Regions from separate parts of the Homo sapiens genome. Here region 2 is linked to region 1. The links are contacts of gene promoters, found by promoter capture Hi-C in human tissues and cell types (Jung and others, 2019). All regions are on one chromosome and are shown on one strand. Each heading gives the region's core, a stretch centred on a gene start or on the middle of the fragment in contact. The rest is flanking DNA. Distances are from core to core; before and after follow the strand shown.

What was found. Contacts are between HindIII fragments. The study calls those that stand out against the background at their distance.
Region 2: a fragment that was not itself captured here is called in contact with the fragment with the promoter of LRRC55 in region 1 in 4 of the 25 tissues and cell types used here (H1 embryonic stem cells, aorta, pancreas and 1 more).

What each region holds. Positions count from the first base shown.
Region 1 is chr11:57,180,037-57,184,651 of GRCh38, reverse strand. It overlaps LRRC55 (leucine rich repeat containing 55), which reads right to left and starts at 2,699. Exons shown (of 2, transcript NM_001005210.4): 1 at 1,969-2,699. The coding sequence starts at 2,629. All of the region lies in intron 4 of LOC105369309 (a long non-coding RNA gene), which reads left to right. RefSeq lists a silencer at 2,003-2,297. The HindIII fragment of the contact is 8,931 bases long and covers 1-4,615 here.
Region 2 is chr11:57,133,115-57,137,729 of GRCh38, reverse strand. All of the region lies in intron 6 of LOC105369309 (a long non-coding RNA gene), which reads left to right. Among named protein-coding and RNA genes, the nearest start is that of LRRC55, 47 kb to the left of the region's middle. The HindIII fragment of the contact is 4,484 bases long and covers 1-4,255 here.

The DNA of each region.
Region 1 (4,615 bases), core at 1,450-3,949:
AAGAAAAAGGGAGGAAGCAGCTGAAAAGGACCTAAAGGGAAGAGCATCACCTAGTTCTGCCTCCACTGGCAAGGTTTTGTCCCTAAGGAGAAGCACCCTGGTGCGTGTGGCCTGGTGTTAAGTGTGTTCTGTGGAGGAACAGGGAACCTGGCTTTCCAGCTGGGACTGCTTGCTTCCTCATCATGGGCCTGTGGACAGTCACTGTCCCCTTCTGGAGCTCAGGTTCCTCACCTGTACTGATGTATGTGTGAGCCTACACTGATGAAATCTTGGACCCCTCTCCTGCTCGCTGGGAGTCTGAGCTTCTTCAGAGCAGCAGGGACCTCAGAGATCACAGAAAAGGAGTCCCTGGGTGTAATGTAAGCTTAGTGCTTTGGGTGCCCTTTCTGTTATTAGTGCACAGGAGAGAGAGGGAAGGCGCGCCTGCCAAGTTTGAGCAAGTTGAGAGATTGCTCCAGGCATCCTCCCACTCCTGCCCTCCACCATCGCCCCATCCCAGTCCCCAGCTATTTTGATGCAAGAGAATTTCCTCCTACAGCTCTGTGGAAACACTGGAATCGTGACCCACAGCCCTCCCCAAACTATTTTGGTCTTGGGCTCCCCACTCAGTCCTCCTCTCCCTTTTACCACATTCAGCATTGCTTCTTCTCAACATGGGCTGAGCTCAGGTTCTGGGAAAGCCCCTTGGATAGGGCCTTCAGCTACTACTTCTGGGTTCTTGTGCCAAGTCTTGGTGTTGTCACACAGGAGAGCTGGTGGCTAGGGCCACAGCTGAACATTGCCTGCCTCTGGGTCAGGCTCAGATGCCACTGGGTTGGGATGCCCATCAAACCTATGTGATTTGGGCTTCTTCAGGCCCCAGTCCACCCTCCAGTTGGGATTGGCTGGTTGAGTTGCCGCATCTCAGTCTTCCTTTCAGCTCCCTACCCTGTGCCCAAAGTTTACACTGCTCAGGGCCTTGAGTTTGAGGAAAGCCAGGTTCTCGTAGCTGAGATCCAGGTCTTGGAGCTGCATGAGGTCCTGGAACTCTACTGCAGCCCTTTGGCCAGTCCAGGACTCAGGTTCTGACTCTTCCGGCAGGCCAGAACCTGACTCTTCAGGATATAGTCAGGGAGATTGCCAGGACTCAAATCCTGGCTTCAACACTTAGCAGCTGTGTAACTTCCAACAAGCTACTGAACCTCTCTGTGCCTCAGCTTCCTCCTCTGTAGAGTGGCAATCTCATTAGTGTTCTTCTGGGGATAGGAAGAGATAGGTAAAGCTGCTTAAGAGAGGGCCTGGTAAATAGCAAGTACTAAGGTCTCAAGTTCCTCCTGGAACATATTGGCTGTCACGCAACTTAAGCTATTGCAGCTCTGTTGAGATTGTGTTAGTCATTACTATTTATACGAGAGTTTCCAACACTTGGAATGCTAAAAAAGCATTCTGGTAGATTAGAACAGGGCTTAGAAGTCAGATAAATCTAGGTTTTATTCATGGTCCTGCCACTTTTTAATTTTTTAATTTGTATTTTTTTCATGGCCCTGCCACTTTCTAAGTGTGTGATTCCTGTCAAGCCTTTTTATTGTTCTAAATCTCAGTTTCTTCACCTGGAAAATGGGTATAATAAAAATGGGGGTCTCATGAGATAATGGATGCCAAGATCTTAGGTCATGGTGAAAGCTCAATAAAAACCACCAACCATAGGCTATTCTCACTTGTCTACTATCCGTCTGCCTCATTAGGTCATGAGCAGCGCAGTGGTGAGGGACATCTATTTAATGAATGAATGGGCCCTCGGTGCCTCACATGCACTGGAAGGATTCTACAAACAACCTGTTGGCCGAGCTGGTGTACAAAGAGGCAAGCCCACATTAGAAAATGCAGTAGGTGCTTTCTGGCTCTAAGTTCCCCCGCTTTCTTTGGAGCCTTTGCTTCCCATTGAGGCAAGCCCTCCCTGTTGACTGCCCCGTTCTGCCCCTCTATTACCTGCTGTACAGCGCTGGATCCGGTTTCGCAGCCACTTCAGCAGGGGTTCCATGGTGCAGCCACACACCCAGGGATTGCCACCGATCTGCAGGGTCACCAGCCCCGGTAGGCCCTCAAGAGCCTCCAGGCTGAGGAAGGCCAGGCCCCCATAACTGAGGTCCAGGTCTCGGAGCTGCATGAGGCCCTGAAAGGCCTGGGGATGCACCCTCCGCAGCCAGGGGTTGTGGCTCAGGTCGATGTGGACTAGCCCATGGGCCTCCTGGAACATGTCGGCTGGCACATGGCTGAAATTGTTGTAGCTCAGGTCCAAGTGTGCCAAGCGCTTGGCATGGAGGAAGAGGCCCCGGGGCAGCTCCATTAAGGAGTTGTTGTGCAAATCCAGCACCTGGAGCTCCATGTAGCATGTGAGGTAGCCAGGCGGCACTGCTGTGATGCGGTTGTGGGCCAGGCTGAGGTTTCGGGTGTCCATTGGCAGGTCTGGGGGCACGGAGAATAGCCGCTGGCTGCTACAATCCACCACCTGGTTACGGCATGTGCAAAGGACGGGGCAGCTGGTGCCGGCATCCGAGTGCATCAACCCGGCTGCCAAGAGGAGGGAGATCAGCAGCATTGCTGGGTGGGGTGGCCCGGGCCAGGGAAGCTGGGCCCAAGTGTCACCCATCTTAGGCAGCAGGCAACAGCAGTGCTGGAGGGAGCCCATGAGGACTGTGTCCATGGAATCGAGAGTCTGTGACACAGGAAGGCAGCTACATCTGGGGCCAGCGTCTGTGAAGGTGGGGCTTCTGAGCATGTGGTATCATGGCTAGGGACTTTCCCAGGAGCCTCTGAGCACCAGAGGGCTTCCTGAGATCCACGGGAGGTCCCCTTCCGGAGCCTAGGGGGCAAGACACCCAGTTGAGGTCCCCTAGGGTCTGGAATGATGATCAAAACCTGAGAAAGGGAGGGGACAAGAATGGGGCTAGGTCAGCTGCCAGCAAGTCCTGGAAGAGTTCCTGCAGATCTTTTGTGTCTCTCTCACCCATGCCTGCTGGATGTTTCCTCTTGGTGCTGTGTCTGGGAGGGAGGGGCTGAAGGAGATGAAACGTGCCCTTTAAAGATCCTTGGCACTTCTTCTGAGAAAACTTAAGTCCTGTCCCACGTCTGGGACTGATTAGGAAGCCGGGGCTGCACCTGGGTCTTCAGTGTTGAAGGTCTCAGAGGCCATTTGTCCTGGTGGCCTGGTGGGCTGGAGTCCAAGGGGGTCCCAGGGTGGGTGTTTTGGGAAAAGGGCCCGGGAGGAAGTGAGTCTCCATGGGCCTCCTAAAAGCCTGAGAGTCCTCAGCCTCAGTGGCTGCTGGAATCCCCAGGAAGCCTCTTTTTTTCCCAAAGAGAGGAGGACCCCAGGTGATGCCCACTGTCTGGGCCTCTGGGGCCAGAAGAAGTCATGAGTCCTGAAGGTGCAGGCTGAGTGTCAGCTGGCAGAGCTCTGGCATCTTCTCCAAGCCAGTGCCTTCCTCAGCGCAGTTCTGTGTTCAGCAGGTGGAGGCCAAATTCCCTCTGTCAACAAGGAAAGCACTCAGGCAGAGAAATCCTGTGCCCTTGACACTCCCTTGTCCCTTCACCTAGGACGCTTGGCTTATCTTTGTCTCTTTCCTTTGCTCCCCCAACCACAAAGTTCTCTGCTTACTGTCTGTCAGGTGTGGGCCATGGTAGGTTCAGACCCCAGGCTCACATTGCTGTTACCCACGAGCCCTCCCTGACCCAACCTGCAGCCATCCTCCTCTGGGTTCCTGTCTTGGGTTAGATGCATTTTCTTCTTCTTCTCATAACCCCACCCTCATTAGTACCAAACACGCCACCCTTGAACAACTCCCTAAGAAAAATCTGCATCCACACTCTGGGGGTTTGCACACCCCTTTCAAACACTCTAAGCACTCCTCTCTCTCTCACACGCACACACACACACTCACTCACACACCATTCTGTGACTCCCCCGTATTTTGCCCTGCCCCGTGCTCACGCCTCGCGGTTTTCGCTCCAGCTTCCTTCTGCACAGGCGATTCTGCAGACCCCTCCCCAGTCGACCCCCAGCATCTTTCGCCCCCCTCTCAGCGCACACCCTTCATCCCAGCATCCCTTTCCACACACTGCACTCTCCTCGCCGCCCCCAGCAGAGGGACCGAGAGTGATGCCACGCCCAGAGCCTCAGCCCTCGCGCCCCGCGCCCTCTCGCTTCTCCCTTGCCCACCTGCTGTCCTCGGTCCTCCCCTCACCCTCGGCCTGGCGCTGCCTATTTTCCTACCGCTTCAAGCCTCAATCCCGCCCACCTGGAAATCACCCCAGCTCCCCTTCATGCAGACTCATTTTTCTAAGCCCCAGGTCTCCCCCTCGCACTCCCACAGGCCCCAGGAGCCTACTCACTCCGTTCCAAGGACACAGCCATCAATCTGCGGCAGACGCGGGTCTCCCTCCCTCCTCCTGGAATCCCCGCTTGCTCCTTGCTTGCTTCAGAACAGATTGCCTCCCAGGCTGTTCCCCTCCCCCGGCCTCTCCTCCTCCTTGTCTCCCGGATCCCAGGCCAGCATCTTCTATGATTTCCCGTCCTGCGGTCCCCCTGCCCCTTCTTTCACCCAAAGGGAAATCACAGAGACAGGATGCTCGGAAGAAA
Region 2 (4,615 bases), core at 764-3,263, 46 kb after region 1:
CAACAATACTAAAAACATTAACTTTTTCATTTTAGAAAGTTACTGAACTTTTCAACTCTAAAATTTTATTTGGTTCTTTTGCATGACTTCCATCTCCTTATTAAGATTCTTTATTTGTTGAGTCATTGATTCATATTTTTGTTGATTTTTTAAACATTGTTTCCTTTAGTTCTCTGAACATAATTATTGGTTTTAAAGACTTTGTCTGCTAAATCCAACATCTGGGCCCACTCAGAGACCATTCCTATTGACTAAATTTTTTTTACTGAGTGTGGATCATGTTTTCCTATATCTTTGCATGTCTCATAGCTTTTTGTTGTTCCAAACTGGATAATGTAGGTAATATATTGTAGCAGTTCTGGACTGCGATGCCTCCTGGGAATGGTTATTGTTGCTGCTTGTTTGTTTAGTAGCTTACCTGGACTAAATCTGTGGATACTGTCTTCCTTGTGATGTGTTGCTACTGATGTCTTTCCTCAGTTTGTAAAAAAACTATTTTATTTTAAGCCTGAATTCCTAGGGGTTGCTTCTATTTTCTTCATAGTTTAGGAGTCAGCTGATGTTTGGTCACAGGTTGTGATCAAACACCTTGTATTAGTTTTTCTATTGCTGACATGTACCACAAGCTTAGTGTCTAAACAAAATAAACTTACTATTTTAGTCCTCTTTGGGAATCATTGGGCTAAAATCATGGCATTGGCAAGGCTGTATTCCTCCTCCTCCTCCTTGTTCTCCTCCTCCTCCTCCTTCTCCTCCTCCTCCTCCTTCTCCTCCTCCTCCTTCCTTTTCCTCCTCCTCCTTCCTATTCCTCCTCCTCCTTCCTCTTCCTCCTCCTCCTTCTTCTTCTTCTTTTCTTCTCCTTTTCCTTCTTCTTCTCCTTCTCCTTCTCTTCCCTCTCCCTCCCCCTCCCCCTCCCCCTCCCCCTCCTCCTCCTCCTCCTCCTCCTCCTTCTCCTTCTCCTTCTTCTTCTTCTTCTTGTCGTGCTCCGTTGCCTAGGCTGGAGTACAGTGGCACGATCTTGGTTCACTGCAACTTCCGCCTCCCAGGTTCAAGAGATTCTCATGCCTCAGCCTCCCAAGTAGCTGGGATTACAGGCACCCTCCACTATATCGGCTAATTTTTGTGTTTCTAGTGGAGATGGAGTTTCACCATGTTGGCCAGGCTAGTCTCCAACTCCTGACCTCAAGCGACCCACCCACCTCAGCCTCCCAAAGTGCTGAGATTACAGGTGTGTCACTGTGCCCAGCTAAGGCTGCATTCCATTCTGAAGGCTCTGGGGAAGAATCAGTTTCCTTGCCTTTTCCAATTTCTAGACGGCATTAACCTTGCTTGTCTATGGCTTATGTTCTCCATCTTCAAAGCCTGCTTTTAAAGAGTCCTGTGACTAGATTGGGCCCACCAGGATAATCCAAGATAAACTATCTCAGGGTCCTTAACCTTCATCCCGTCTGCAAAGTCCCATATGCCCTTAACATAGTCACAAGTTATAGGATCAGACCTGAACATCTTTGTGGGGGGGCGGGGAAGAGAGGACTTTATTCTGCCTACCACACACCTCAAGCTAGTGAGGCTTCCATACACTTCTATCAGATCTGTGTGGGTTATCAAAGTTCAGGAAGTTTTCAGGTCAGCCCTGGCCGTTACTCTCAGGTAGGCCATCTTTCATCTTCTCTGCATGTGCTCTGCATCCTCGTGCACCAGGGATCTGTGAAGCCCCTTTAGGACTATCTGGTTTCCTGAATCTCCTTGTTAACTTTCTGGTTAGTCTTCCACCAGGACTGCAATCTCAGGTTAGTAGAGTTGTTGGCTTTCCCAGTTTACTGGTCACGAAGATTGCTAGCATTACTGACAGGGATGATGGATATGGATTTTTTTTTCCCTCCCATTCCAAACCAAGTGAGTCCTCTCTGCAGCAAGTTGCTGGTTTTCACAGCCAGTCCCATTGGGCTAGAACTACCCTGCCGACCAAGCTGGATGGGGATGGGGAGGATGAAAGCAGCTTCAGTCTGAAGCTTGAATACCACAAACTCCTGCAGTTCTTATCCCAAATTTAGCAGTTTTTCATGAATACAAACTTTATTTGCTGTATGGCTCTGTTTGATTTTCAGAGCTCTGAATCATTGTTTTTGACAGTTTTGATTTTAGTATATATAGTTGCTTTTTGGGGAGAAGATTTGCTGACCTCTTCATTTTGCCAAACCAGAAGTCTCTCCTGCCTAATTGGAGGCTTTAGTCCCAATATTATTACATTTAGAATAATTAATAATATTGTCAGTTTCTCAATATACTTTACTGGTATTTGACTGCTTTCTGTATCATGTGTTTATTTGTCCCTCTTTCCCTCCTTTCCTGCCTTCTTTGGGATAATCAAATATTTTGTAGCTGTCCATTTTAATTTCTCTATTGACTTTTTAACTATTTTTTTTGTATTTTTTTAGTGCTGCTCCAGGCAATATACATATTCTTAATTTATCAAGTCTACCTTTAACTAATATTGCATCACTTCCTGTGAAATGCAAGAATCTTACAACAGAAAGACAGCACTTATCTAAACCCATCTTCTATGCTATTACTGACATACAAGTATACCTTCTTTCATTGCGCTTCGCTTTATTATGCCTCTCAGATATTGTGTTTTCATTACAAATAGAAGGATTGTGGTAACCCTGCATCAAGCGAGTCTATTGGTGGCATTTTCTCAACAGCATGTGTTTACTGTGTGTCTCTGTCAAATTTTGGTAATTCAATATTTCAAACTTTTTCGTTATTGTTTATCTGTTACGGTGATCTGTGATCAGTGATCATTGATGTTATTACTGTAATTGTTTTGGAGCACCACAAACCATGCCCGTATACAACACTAATCCATACAAGTCGTGAGTGTTTTGATTACACCACTGACTGGCCATTCAACATCTCTCTTCCTCTCCTTGGACCTCCCTAGTCCCTGAGACACAACAAAGTTGAAATGAGGCCAATTAGTAACCCTGCAAGGGCCTCTAAGTGTTCAAGTGAAAGGAAGAGTTGTACGTCTCTTACTCTATATCAAAGGTAGAAATGATTAAGCTTAGTGAGCAAGGCTCACTAATGTCTTTCATGAATGTCCAAAGCTTTCACTAATGTCAAAAGCTGAGATATGCTGAAAGCTAGGCCTGTCATACCAAACAGTTGGCCAAGTTGTGAATGCAAAAAAAAAAAAAAAAAAAAAGTCCTTGAAGGAAGTTAAAAGTGCTATTCCAGTGACCACACGAATCATAAGGAAGCAAAACAGCCTTATTACTGATGTGGAGGAAGTTTTTGTGGTCTGGATAGAAGATCAAACTAGCCACACAATACTACCTCAAGCCAAAGCCTAATCCAGAGCAAGTCTCTTCCATTCTGTGAAAGCTGAGAGAGGTGAGGAAACTGCAGAAGAAAAGTTTGAAGTTAGCAGAGATTTGTTCATAGGTTTAAGGAAAGAAGTTATCTCCGTAACATAAAAATACACTGTGAAGTAGCAAATGCTGATACAGAAGCTACAGCAAATTATTAAAAAATCTAGATAAGATAATTGATGAAGGTGGCTACACTAAATTTACAAATTTTCCATGTAGATCAAACAGCCTTTTAATGGAAGAGATGCTATTTAGGACTTTTATAGTTATAGAGGAGAAGTCAACGGCTGGCTACAAAGCTTCAAAGAACAGGTGGACTCTGCTGTTAGTGGCTACTGCAGCTGGTGATTTTAAGTTGAAGCCAGTGCTCATTTACTATTCTAAAAATCCTAAGGCCCTTAAGAAATATGCTAAACCAACTCTGCTTGTGCTGTACATAAATGAAACTGCAAAGCCTAGATGACAGCACATCTGTCTATAGCATGGTTTATTAGATATCTTAGTCATACTGTTGAGACCTATTGCTCAGAATAAAGACTCCTTTCAAAATATTACTGCTCACTGACAATACACCTAGACACTCAAGAGCTCTAATGGAAATGTACAGGGCAATTAATCTTGTTTTCAAGCCCAGTAACACAATGTTCACTGTGCAGTGCATGAATCCAGGGGTAATTTTGACTCTCAAGGCTTATTATTTAAGACATATATTATGTATGGCTATAGCAGCCATTCATAGTGATTCCCCTGGCGGGTCTGGGCAAAGTAAATTGAAAACCTTCTAAAAAGATTCATCCTTCCAGATGGCATTAAAAATATTCATATTCATGAGAGGAGATCAAAATATCAACATTAGCCGTAATTTGGAAGAAGCTGATTCCAACTGTCATAGTTTCCTTCGAGGGGTTCAAGATGTTAGTGGAGGAAACAACTGCAGATTTGGTGGAAATAGTAAGAGAACTAGAAGTGAAAGTGGAGCCTGAAGATGTGACTGAATTGCTGCAATCTTATGATAATATTTGAATGGATGAAGAGTTGCTTCTTTCAGAAGAATAAAAAAGTGAGTTTTTTTTTTTTTTTTTCTTTGAGACAGTGTCATGCTCTGTCATCCAGGCTGGAGTGCAGTGGTGTGATCTCAGCTCACTGCAACCTCTGCTTCCTGGGTTCAAGCAATTCTCCTGCCTCAGCCTCCTGAGTAGCTGGGACTACAGGCATGCACCACCACCAAGCCCGGCTAATTT